Regions from separate parts of the Homo sapiens genome. Here all the other regions are linked to region 3. Evidence: promoter capture Hi-C in 16 types of primary human blood cells and fetal thymus (Javierre and others, 2016). All regions are on one chromosome and are shown on one strand. Each heading gives the region's core, a stretch centred on a gene start or on the middle of the fragment in contact. The rest is flanking DNA. Distances are from core to core; before and after follow the strand shown. Region 1 overlaps FHL5 (four and a half LIM domains 5). Region 2 overlaps FHL5 (four and a half LIM domains 5). Region 3 holds the start of NDUFAF4 (NADH:ubiquinone oxidoreductase complex assembly factor 4).

Region 1 (4,034 bases), core at 344-2,843, 310 kb before region 3:
AAATTGAAGTAAGATTTTATCAAATGCCTTTTCTGCAGCTGCTGAGGTAATTTTACAGCTTTCACTTTTACTTGGTAAAATTATTGAAACACAGTGATTCTCTTGAATTTTAAACTGAACTTGGCATTCCTAAAATGAAATCAACTTGATCATGATATACTAATCTCTTCATATATCACTGGATTTAGTTGCTTGTTATTTGGGTTTGGGTTTTGTATTTATTGTCAGAAGTATTATGGACCTATAGTTTTCCTTTCTCATAATGATTTTAGATTTTGATACCAAAGTGTTAATGAGTTCAAAATTTACCAGAGCATGTTCTCTGTTTGTACTTACTTGATTTGGTTTGTGTGAGATTGCTGTTATTTCTTCTTTAAAGCTTGGCAAAATTCACTGGTAAAGCCACTTTGGCTTTATTTCCCTCTGTATGTAGCCTTTTTAATTACAAATTCAACTTATCTAATAGTTGTCATAATTTTTTATTTCTTCTTGTGTCAATTTTAATAGTTTTATTTATTTTAGATTTTTCCATTTTACCTAAATTTTCTAATTCTTTGACACAGGGTTGTTGTACATAGTCAGATTTACATAGATTCATCTACATGTTTACGGTTTTCATTTTTTCCCTACTCTTTTCCGCACCTGTGATCTCCAATGTGTACTTTTGCCCAAAGAACACTGTTTGGTATTATTTTAACGTGGGTGGATGATTAATAAATTTAGTTTCTGATGGCCTGAAAATGCTTTTACCTTCATTGTCAAAAGATCTTTTACCTGGGCATAGACTTCTAGGTTGGCTGCTAATTTTTTTCAGCAATTTGAATATATCTCTCCATTGTCTAGCTTCCTTTTTTTTCTGTTGAGAAGTAGGTATCCTCAATTTGTTATTAATCTGAAAGTAATATTTTATTATCAGGGGAAATTCAGCCAGATATCGGGGGGAAATTCACCCCCGATATTTCATGTAGGTGCTTTTCTATTTTCCCTAAGTGTCAGCCAGTTTGAGAAATAAAGGGACAGAGAACAAAAGAGAGAAATTTTAAAGCTGGGCATCTGGGGGACACATCACATGTCGATAGGTTCCGTGATGTCCCCTGAGCTGTAAAACCAGCAAGTTTTTATTAGGGATTTTCAATGGGGAGGGAGTGTACGAATAGGGTGTGGGTCACAGAGATCAGGTACTTCACAAGATAATAGAATATCACAAGGCAAATGGAGGCAGGGCGAGATCACAGGACCATAGGACCGGGGCAAAATTAAAATTGCTAATGAAGTTTCGGGCACCACTGTCATTGATAACATCTTATCAGGAGACAGGGTTTGAGAGCAACCTGTCTGACCAAAATTTATTAGGTGGGAATTTTCTCGTCCTAATAAGCCTGGGAGCACTATGGGAGACTGGGGCTTATTTCATCCCTACAGTCTTGACCATAGAAGATGGCCACACCCAAGGGGGCCATTGTAGAGGCCCACCCTCAGGGGCACATTCTCTTTCTCAGGGATGTTCCTTGCTGAGAAAAAGAATTCAGTGATACTTCTCCCATTTGCTTTTGAAAGAAGAGAAATACGGCTCTGTTCCGCCCAGCTCACTGGCGGTCAGAGTTTAAGGTTATCTCTCTTATTCCCTTGAACATTGCTGTTATCCTGTTCTTATTTCAAGGTGCCCAGATTTCATATTGTTCAAACACACATGCTCTACAATTTGTGCAGTTAATGCAATCATCACAGGGTCCTGAGGCAACATACATCCTCCTCAGCTTACGAGATGACAGGATTAAGAGATTAAAGTGAAAACAGGCATAGGAAATCACAGGGGTATTGACTGGGGAAGTGGTAAGTGTCCAAGAAATCTTCACAATTTATGTTTAGAGATTGCAGTAAAGACAGGCATAAGAAATTATAAAAGTATTAATTTGGGGATCTAATAAATGTCCATGAAATCTTCACAATTTATGTTCTTCCACCATGGCTTCAGCCAGTCCCTCCGTTCAGGGTCCCTGACTTCCCGCAACATTTTATAATCTACTTTTGATATGTTATTTGTCTTTCGTTTTTAGTAGTTGTACCCTGATGTGTCCAAGTGTGTTTTTCAGGTCAGTTGAGGTTCATGTTTTCTTGGTTTTTAAAATTTGGGGCATGTATTTTGTCAGTTTTGGAAGATGGGCCATTGTTTCTTCAAATACAACTTGTATATTTTTCTCTTTTCTCATTCTCATTCTATCATCTATGTTTCTTACTTTCTTAATTGTACTTTTTATACCTTTTATCATCATGCTTAATTTTATTTTCTATTTTATCATCTTTTTCATTTCATACAATCTTTTCTAAAATTTCCCATTATGTCCCTAATTTAAATCATTGTATATTTCTGTACTATAATTTACATTTCATTCTTTTTCATTGTTTTTAATTCTCTGCAAAATTTTTGCTCCTTATTTTATTTACCCCCTTGAACATATTAAGGATAGTTTTATGTTCTGTCTTATAACTCCAAAATCTATGGCTTCCTGCATGTATGTTTCTATTCTTTATATTCCCTTGTCTTCTTCTGAACATGGTCATTTTTGTTTAGTGCTAGACATTGGTGTAGAAGTAATTGAGGCCTAAGATGATGTTTTCTTCCTTCAGACAGGATGTGTATTTATTCTGGTGTTCACCTAGGGATACCAGAATTCCAAGGTTATCTTAATATAATTTTAGAAACTGAGGTAATTCAAAGCTGGGCTTCCATCTCTGAAATACTAGTTTACTTCTAATTTACGTTACTCCAAGGGCATAGCTCTTTGGAAATATCACCTACACAATGATAAGCTTACCAGGCCTGCTACATGGAAGGTCCATTGACCTCAATCTTTGTCCCCTTAGCCTTTCTAGGCTGTCAGAAGTGCCATACAGCTTCTCAGACTATTCATTTTATCTTTTTGGATGTACATATTCTTCTGTGGAAAGCAAATACCAAGCTCATCTACGCTTTTCTCCTTCCTTTGGACTTTGCCTATTCTTCACTGTAATATTAATTCTCTGATGCCTCCAAGCTACACTTTTTAAGTACACTTTTTAAGTACTAGCTTCTCTAGTGGTTCACAGCAGCCTCATGGTTTGAATTATACAGAGTACCATTATTGGACTGGAAGTCTTTCAACAATTTTATTTTGGGGAAAAATTATTTCTATTATCTTCATTTAGTGAATTTTCTCTTTATGCATTAGTTTGTTTCATTTCAAGGTTGCTGATTTTTACTTTTGCTTTTTTCAGTCTGCTGATAATCTTATCCATTGAATTCTCTATTACAAATATTTTTAAACATAAGCCCCCACAGGGACTTTATTATACTTATGTTAAATATTTGGAAGGAAATGAACAGAATGAGTGAATGTATAAATGATTTCAGCAGAAAAATGAAAGAACTGGAAAAGGATCCAATAAATATTAGAATTTATATATATATATATATATATATATATATATATATATATATATATATGTATGTATGTATTTACTTCTTGAGGTGTCTTATAATTTTTTGCCTGCCAAACATTGGAACAAAATACACATGTACAATTTTTGTTTCATTTTGTTTTACCCCCAGAGGATGCACTCCTTTCTTGTCACATGGCTAGGTCAAGGGGCAGAACTTTTAGTTTCTGTCAAGTGTTGTGCTGAGTTACAGTTAACAAAAATATTAAATTAGGCCGACCTCTGGGTTCAAATAGTATTAAAGAAAACTATATTTCCCTTTCATCTAATCTTTGGTTGAAGCTGACAAGAATTTGTTGGGATTTGAACTCAGATTGGTTGCAGATGTTGACAGTTACTTTTGGATCATCTTTGGAATATTTTGGTTTTCAACCAAGAAAGTTTAACCACTCATTTGGTTTGATTTGGGTTTAAAATGTATCATATATCTTCTTCTTTTGTGATGTCTCAGTTTTCTAGTTTTCTTTTTCCTACGTACTTTCTATGAAATAATTTTGTTTTACTTATTTCTATTTCTATGTTTAGAGTTTTCCATTAAAATTTAACAAATCTAATGA
Region 2 (3,975 bases), core at 485-2,984, 290 kb before region 3:
AGATCATGGGGGAAGTTCAGTAGACAAAAGACAGAAAGAAGACTAAGAGCAGCAAGTTCCTTCACTCCAGTTCCAGGATCATGTAGGGCCTTCTGACTTGGCTTCCCACTCAAAAAAAACATTTTCTAAGAGAAAAAAAAAGTAATATTTTTGAAGTAAACTTCATCCAATTCTTTTTTTATCCTCTAAGCTTTTATGTGAAAAAGTAGCTCTAACACCTTGATGAAGCCTGTCTGCATTCCATAAAATATATATGGAGGTTCTCAAAGAAATCCTTGACCTGCGAGGCATCATAAGTTTAAAATGACACCATAAATTGTCATGAGAAAGCTGAATCATGAAAATACATTGGATTAGTATAGTGGTTTCAAAGTATTTTTTATCTGTGGGTTACTTTGGCAGAACTCTTAAGCCCATTTGTATATCTGGACAGCTGGAAGTCACACTACCACTTTCTATGCACACATATGTGAACACACATGCACATACACACACACACACACACACGCAGTTAACTGTTTAACATACATAACCAATACCACTACTGCATTTAAAGAGGCAGCAATACACTATGCTAAGTTATCATTATTAAATTACACTATGTTGATGGCTGAGAATTACAATTGATCACATGACATAAAATAATCTTATGACTGAGACCTTCATTACTCTACCAAAACACTGGCTTAGAAGGTGACTTTACAAGCAGCAATCAAGCCATATGACATATGAAGCTCCAAAGAATTACCAGGGTCAATGACGGCATTTAAAAACATGCTGGAGCTGGGCATGGTGGCTCACGTCTGTAATCCCAACACTTTGGAAAGCCAAGGTGGGAAGATTGCCTGAGGCCAGGAGTTCAAGACCAGCCTGGGCAACATAGTGACACCCTGTCTGTATAAAAAAAAAAAAAAGTTTAAAAATTAGCCAAGTATGGTGACACGTGCCTGTAGTCCCAGCTACTTGGGTGGCTGAGGCAGGAGGATCACTTGGGCCCAGAAATTCAAGGCTGCAGTGAGCTATGATTGAGCCACTGTACTCCAGCCTGGGTGACAATGAGATCCTATCTCTAAAAAATATACAAAACTTAAAAACTAAAGAAAATAAAATCTTGCTGGAAATAAAATGAATAGGTTTATCTCACTGTTTTGAGAGACAACTGAGTTGGCCAATTTTAGGCTGCATTTCTTAAAGACAGACTAAAACAGTAATGATATTTGTGAGAATTATCCTAAAATCATTTATCAGACACAATAATGAAGACTCTTTCAATGCTATAACAATTCAAGAGTGAAACTTCTTTAGTACATCCATGCTGAGCACTGTCTGGGCCAAGTGCTGATGTTTCCCAGGTTATTGGAGCCTGTAACTATATTTAGGATATGATTTGAAGTCATCAAAAATTTACAAAATATTTATATTGGGTAGTAGACAGATTATGACATGCCAGATTATTTTTTATTTAGTTTTTAAAACCACAAGTCCTTTTCTAAAAAGCTAGATTTGTTTTTGATCAAGATGATCCAATCTAAACAATTTTTTTCAACCCAAACCAAAGACCAAATATTTTCTTAAAAAAAGGAAAAACTACTTGACAACCAGGCTGTTAGAACTTTTAAGCTTTAAAATCCATAGATTTTATTTTGTTAAACTAAGATTTATTTTCTGCCAGAAAGCAAATGATTTTAAACTACAAGTGCTTCAAATTCAAACTCCTCAAGGTTCAAAAGGAGTTAAACGTCTTCTTCGATTTTTCATCTGTCACATAATGAGTGCAAAATCATTATTGCCCCCACTTTTTCACAGAACAAACTTGTTCTAAATCCTGAGATCAATCAGTGGTGAAAACCAAGCTTAGATATTAGACTTTATCTTACCTTCCTACCTCTTCAAAAGGAATATAATCACAAGCAAACTATTTTTGATGTTCCAGAATTTCTTCTCTCTAATTAAACAGTCTTTGGTGTATATATCAAGTTTTATTTTGCTGTGAATACATTTTTCAAGTTTCAGATCTTTTAAGCATTGCCTGCTAATCATCAGACCAAACAAATCAAAGGAATCATGAATTCTGCTGTGTCTGCTGTAAGGCATTGGAAGTCAGTAGGAGGTATTTTAAATTGCTTTACTTCCATCACAACATTATGCTTCCCATTTACTTATTCAGAATAGTATGCTTTTTTCCCTCTAGGAAAATATCTTTCATATCAAATATCTTTAATTTCTAAGATATTTGTTATAAGATTAAAAATACCTTTAGAATAATTTTTTCACAAGTCTATGTAACAGACAAATAACATTTTTGAGTTCGTAAACAACGAGGCGGCTTAAAATAGGCTCTAAGTTTTTACTACCTAGTTAATTTGATACAAAGGTTATAGGAACCACCTCAGATACCCCATTGCTTCAGTCATTATAAAACACTTACAAAAACACATTCCAGTATCTACAGCAATTCTAAGAGCTCATTAGCTGTGAATTCAAAAGGTGATGTGGCTTAAAAATAGTTACATGAGAAAAAATGCCCAAGATTTATCCATCTGATTCTAACTAAAGATTTCTCAGCCTTTTAAAAAGTAGAATTCATGGATTAAATTGGTTTAGAAAGAAAATATTATCTTATGCAGAACTAATTACATCTCAGGCAAAACACTGCACATCACACCTTAAGGCTCAATGTACAACCAGGGCTTATTCCATTGAGTTCTAATTCCCACAGCACCCCACTGCTAGATACAATATTGGAATTGCTTTCCAACTATTTTTTCCTTTGGCATTTATTCATTCATTCAACAAGGATTTTCAACTGCTTATCTGTGTAAGGTAACCTTGACTCAGTATGGCACTGATGGTGATGCACACAGGCTGTGGAATCAGACCATGCAGGTTTGAATCCTAGCTCACTATGGCCATGGCAAGTAACTTAATGACTGTAACCCTCACTAGTTGCTCATCTGAAAAGAGGGAAAGATAATAGTCTGTAGTATGTAGAGGTGTTGAGAATATTCAGAAGAGATCATCCTTAGCACGGTGGTAAGGACTGAAAAAACACTTAAGAAATGGTAGTTGTTATTAGCAAATAATGGTGCTTACCAATTCCATTCAGAATTACTGCTGTTGGATATTCTTGGACCTGGTGTAAAGCATTCAGGAAAAAGAAGAATTCTTTTAAGCATCCCTAAAGTTAGACAGGTAGTTATAAGAACATAGTATAGAAAATAGCTCTAACGGCAGATCTTTAAAAACCAAAATTAAGAAAATTCAGAGAAGTATGAGGAAGTGAAAAAAGAACCTGTGTGGTTTTTCTCCCCCATCTTCCTGAGTCCAATATGGCCCTGCCTCTGTTCTATTTCATTGTAGGAGAAAAATATACAATAATTTCCATTTCTTTCTACTTCTAATTAATTCCTATAGCCTTTGGCTTCTCATATTATTAATTTTTAATGACTTTTTGAGGAAAAGAACATCCTAACATAAGGTGAAAATAGAGTAGCCAAAAGCACCAGTTGTGGCATAGAAGACATGAAATGATCTTTTTTTTTTCTTTTTGCTTCCTTTTCTCCCCAGAGATACTAGGATCTCAAAAGAATCATGAAATGATCTGAATTGTAATGGCTCCCATGGTCATTGCCTTTTCTGTGGTCTTTGGCAGGTGATAACTTCAGGTGGGATAACATTTTGTGACCAGCTATGGCATAAAGAGTGTTTTCTGTGTAGTGGCTGTAGGAAAGATCTCTGTGAAGAACAGTTCATGTCCAGAGACGACTATCCATTCTGCGTGGACTGCTACAACCATCTTTATGCCAACAAGTGTGTAGCCTGTTCCAAACCCATTAGTGGTGAGTTCTTCAGTTCAATATGATCATGCCATGAGACAGTTATGACTTTATGAAACACTATCTAGTTAATTTAGGAAAAGCAATTAAAAAATGGGAAGCTTTCCTTTATATTTCCTTTTGAGATAAACACAAGTGG
Region 3 (3,947 bases), core at 129-2,628:
CTTGTATCAATACTTCCACAAGTTATTTTAGAATTCTGGTAAATATCCAGTGAACCAAGGCATAAGTGTCTTGCTGTCTTACACCAGTGTGCTTAAACTTTGCCAAGGCGTGTAGATTGATCACAACACACACTTGCAGAGCACTCTTTTTACTACTTGCCACACTTAATCATTTTCCTGAAGCCCCAAAATAAGTAAATTGTGTATTCACTTAATTAAACACACATTTACCTGCAAGGAAGACACAGGATCTTTGGAATCAACATACACATCTTTTAGAAACGACAGCAGCTTTTCATCTTTACGAGCAATCTCTCCTTTAACTTCTGGATAGACTAAGGAAAGGAAAAAAGTCACAATATTAAAATCAAGGAAAATTTCCTGTAATATCCTAAACGCTTAACACAAACGCTTTCTTTTATTTTCTTTTTTGAGTCGGAGTCTCGCTCTGTTGCCCAGACTGGAGTGCAGTCGCGCGATCTCGGCTCCCTGCAACCTCCGCCTCCCGGGTTCGAGAGATTCTCCCACCTCAGCCTCCCGACAAGCTGAGGCTACAGGCGCGCCACCACGCCCGGCTAATTTTTGCATTGTTTGTAGAGACGGGGTTTAGCCATGTTGGCCAGGCTGGTCTCGAACTCCTGACCTCAGGTGATCTGCCCGCCTCGGCCTCCCAAAGTGCTGAGATTACAGGCTTGAGCTACCGCGCCCGGCCTAACCACTTTAATTTTTTTAAAAAATAAACATAATCATTTGGACTGTTAGGAAAATACTTTAGATGGAAATCAAAATTCCAGGTCAGGCTCTGCGTCCATCGTCCAGTGAAGACCCCTAGAGAAAGCTCTGTGACCCTCTCGGATTTTGATTCCCTGTATCAAGTCCGTGACAGCAGCCGGCGAGGGCCTGGTTAGCGGGAGCACTGGCTGCTGCCTCTGGGTCTCGGAAGTAGGCGGGGCCGCCGACCTCACCGCGGGCGCGGAGGACAGTCTCAATGTCACCGGCCTGGCGGCTCCCCCTTCCAACGCTCCGCCAACCCGAGCGGCTGCGGCCGAGCAGGCTGACGCCGATCCCTCGGCCTCCGGACCCACGCTAGGGACAGCCGGGCAGCACAGGGACTCCGCGCCCCCGGGCCCCGAAACGCCCTCGCACCACTCACGACTAATCTGCTCTCGCAGGAGGCTGTTGGTAGAGGGGTGTCTGGGAGCGACAGAGGGCTTCATCTTGCTGATTTCCCGTTCCGCTCGGTTCTCTAGGTTGAAATTCCTGATACCGCGAATCACTAGTGCTCCCATCTCCTCATAACATTATGCGCTCAGGTTCAGGCCGCACGTGGGAACACCGGCGCAGGACAACTCCGGGACACCCGGAGCATGCGCACAAGTGAGGGGAAGCCCCGCCGCGGGCGCTTAAATGCGTGCCCGTCGCCCCCTAGCGCTCGGGAGGCCACACACCGCTTCTCTGCCCAGGGCATTTAAAAGGGAGCCCCTCCCTTCGGGGCGAGTGACGGCTCCCACGAGGGCCGCTTCCGGCGGGAGGTGGCGGGGCTTAAGTCCCCAGACCCACGGTTGCTTTTAACGCTGGAACTCCGAGGGAGTCACCCGGGAAGCTCTGTAAAGTTCTGTGCCGGGCCCTACCCCAGACTTTCTGATTTAATTCTTGTGGAGTGAGGCCCAGCATTGGATAAGACTCCACGTGATTCCAAAGTTTCAGTGAAGAGCTGAAAATCAAAGTCGTAAGGAAGTTGACCTTGAAGTTGTTTCACAGGGCAATGCCACCAAAGAGTTAGCCGATAAAAATGGAACTTACTGAACCAGGGTCAAACTGGGCTCTCAAGTTGCCCTTTCCTGCTTTTGTGAAAGGAAAATAATGAAAGGATGTTCCCTTTCGATGAGTATTTGTTCTCAGCCGCTCTCATTTAAATGCCTCTTATTTTCCTGTCCCCCCGCCTGATGCATTTTCAAGCCACTGTATTCTTTTTCCATTATTTTTTACATCCCGTTCTCATTTGACCTAATGGTATCGATTTTAGTTATACTTTCCCTTATCTTATTTTTGCTACTAATTTACTTCTCCATGCTACTAAATGCTGAGTCATTCCCTCTCCTATTTCTCTTCTCTCTTGCCTTCTTCATTCTTTTTAAGCCTCTGTGTAATTTAATGAAAGGAACAGACAATAAGACGTCAGAAAAAAAAAACAAACAAACAAAAAAACGAGTGTTACATTCACCTTCTCCGTCTCTCTCCATTTCCTGAATGGGTTACTGTAGTGCTGCTTTTATTTAAGACCCTTTAGAAATATTGTTATTAATCTAAAATAAAACCCACCAGGAAGGAAGCAGTAGGAAGGAAGTTACAGTATTTCTCTTACTGTGGCTGCAAAATCTATTTTTAGTGTTCTGATCTCTGCTTAGCAAAATGAAGTAGAGTGGATGTTTTTAACCAGCTTAAAGTAAGAAAATATTGATGTAAAGATAATCGAATAGAATAATAATAATAAAACAAGAATCAAAGAACCAAAATGAAGAAAGGGAAAGTTTTTTAAAAAGAAAACTAATGTAATCATTAAGTATAATGCTTAATCAGAGCAAAAGCACTGCAAGGAAGACGGCTTCAGCCACTCTAATTTAAATGCCCTTTATTTAATTATACTGAACATTTTTACAGGGATTGGTATTTGGAATTTATAGAAGCTGAAATCAGTGATCTCAGATAGCATTAACTGGGAAGTTATCCTGAAGGTGGCAGGCTGCTCCAAGATTTCTATCTTTGATACTTTTAAGCATGCTTGTGATTCAGGGCTTTTTAGGCACGGTATTTCTATTTCTATGGGTGCTAAGAAATTTTAATCTGCCTCATTATGTCTATGTGCTTTAATCATGGTAGCAATTCGACTCACTGCCTGTTAAAATATTTTAAAAGTGAAAATCTCATTTTCATAGAAATTCCACCGAACTTCGGGCAGTATGAAAAAGTAATGTTAGAAGTGACTGTCAGGACAGTAGGGATTACAATATGAAATAATTATTTGAATTCACACATTCCAATAGAGCTTGGATTCAACATTGAAAGAGCTTCCAGCATGTGTCAGCTGCTTTGCCTGATCCTGGCCCAGTGCTGCTCAGGCCCTCAAATTGCAAAACAGAAGGCAGATGCACTCCATCAGAAACTCACAATTGGCTGTCACCCTTTGGGAATCATGGAAATAAAACCTGAACCATAAATGCATAATTCCAGCTCTTCTTGTCAAAACATATAAATTAACAGGAACTCTGAACTTAAGAACTCCTGTTGGGCTTATGTTAAGGATTGAAGTCAGATCCCCAAGGAAAGTATAACTAGGATGCTGCTTAGAATGAAGCTTCCATCTGAGTGGAGTATTATGATGCATGTGTATGGCTGAATATCTTAAGATACTAATAAACCCAGGGTCTTGACAACACACTAGAATGTAAATTCTGAGGACAGAACTTTGTCTGTTTTGTTCACTGTTCAACACATTGAACAGCTAGTACACAGTAGGTACTAAACAATTATCAAATAAAGGTCAAATGAACTGAAAGACAAGTAGGATCCCTGAGCTGGAGTCCAGACCCCAGACAAGTTCTCTCTGCCTGAACACTAGCCCTGCTTCCAGAAGTGAGTCCTTATGCAAGTAACTTAATGTGGTTGAACACACTTTGCTCATCTTAAAATTGGGATAATAGTAATCACCTAAGGGGTTTTACACAGATTAAAAATATGTGTCTAGTACAATGCCCAGCTCAGAATCTGATGTTCAATATTTGCATTGTTTTTCATTTTTCAGAGGAGAAGGGAGCAGTTTTAAAAAGGACACATATTCTGAAGCTCTGGTGAATAGGTGAATGAAAGTGATAAAAAAATTTGAGATTACGGTAAGACTCATGTTCTTCAATAATTTAATTTTTAAAAAATAAAAAATGCTAAATTTG

The links. The method cuts DNA at HindIII sites, captures the fragments that hold promoters and counts their contacts. A CHiCAGO score of 5 or more calls a contact.
Region 1: a fragment that was not itself captured here is called in contact with the fragment with the promoter of NDUFAF4 in region 3 in 1 of 17 cell types (total B cells); the score reaches 5.6 in total B cells.
Region 2: a contact is called between a fragment that was not itself captured here and the fragment with the promoter of NDUFAF4 in region 3, in 4 of 17 cell types (total B cells, naive B cells, naive CD4 T cells and 1 more). The highest score is 10.4, in total B cells.

Annotation. Positions count from the first base shown.
Region 1 is chr6:96,590,791-96,594,824 of GRCh38, forward strand. All of the region lies in intron 1 of FHL5 (four and a half LIM domains 5), which reads left to right. Among named protein-coding and RNA genes, the nearest start is that of FHL5, 30 kb to the left of the region's middle. The HindIII fragment of the contact is 2,432 bases long and covers 378-2,809 here.
Region 2 is chr6:96,606,920-96,610,894 of GRCh38, forward strand. It overlaps FHL5 (four and a half LIM domains 5), which reads left to right. Exons shown (of 6, transcript NM_001322466.2): 5 at 3,653-3,839. Among named protein-coding and RNA genes, the nearest start is that of FHL5, 46 kb to the left of the region's middle. The HindIII fragment of the contact is 233 bases long and covers 1,619-1,851 here.
Region 3 is chr6:96,896,513-96,900,459 of GRCh38, forward strand. NDUFAF4 (NADH:ubiquinone oxidoreductase complex assembly factor 4) reads right to left here and starts at 1,379. Exons shown (of 3, transcript NM_014165.4): 1 at 1,154-1,379; 2 at 232-335. The coding sequence starts at 1,289. It also overlaps a transcript of KLHL32 not described here. RefSeq lists an enhancer at 1,202-1,301. The HindIII fragment of the contact is 8,617 bases long and covers 1-3,353 here.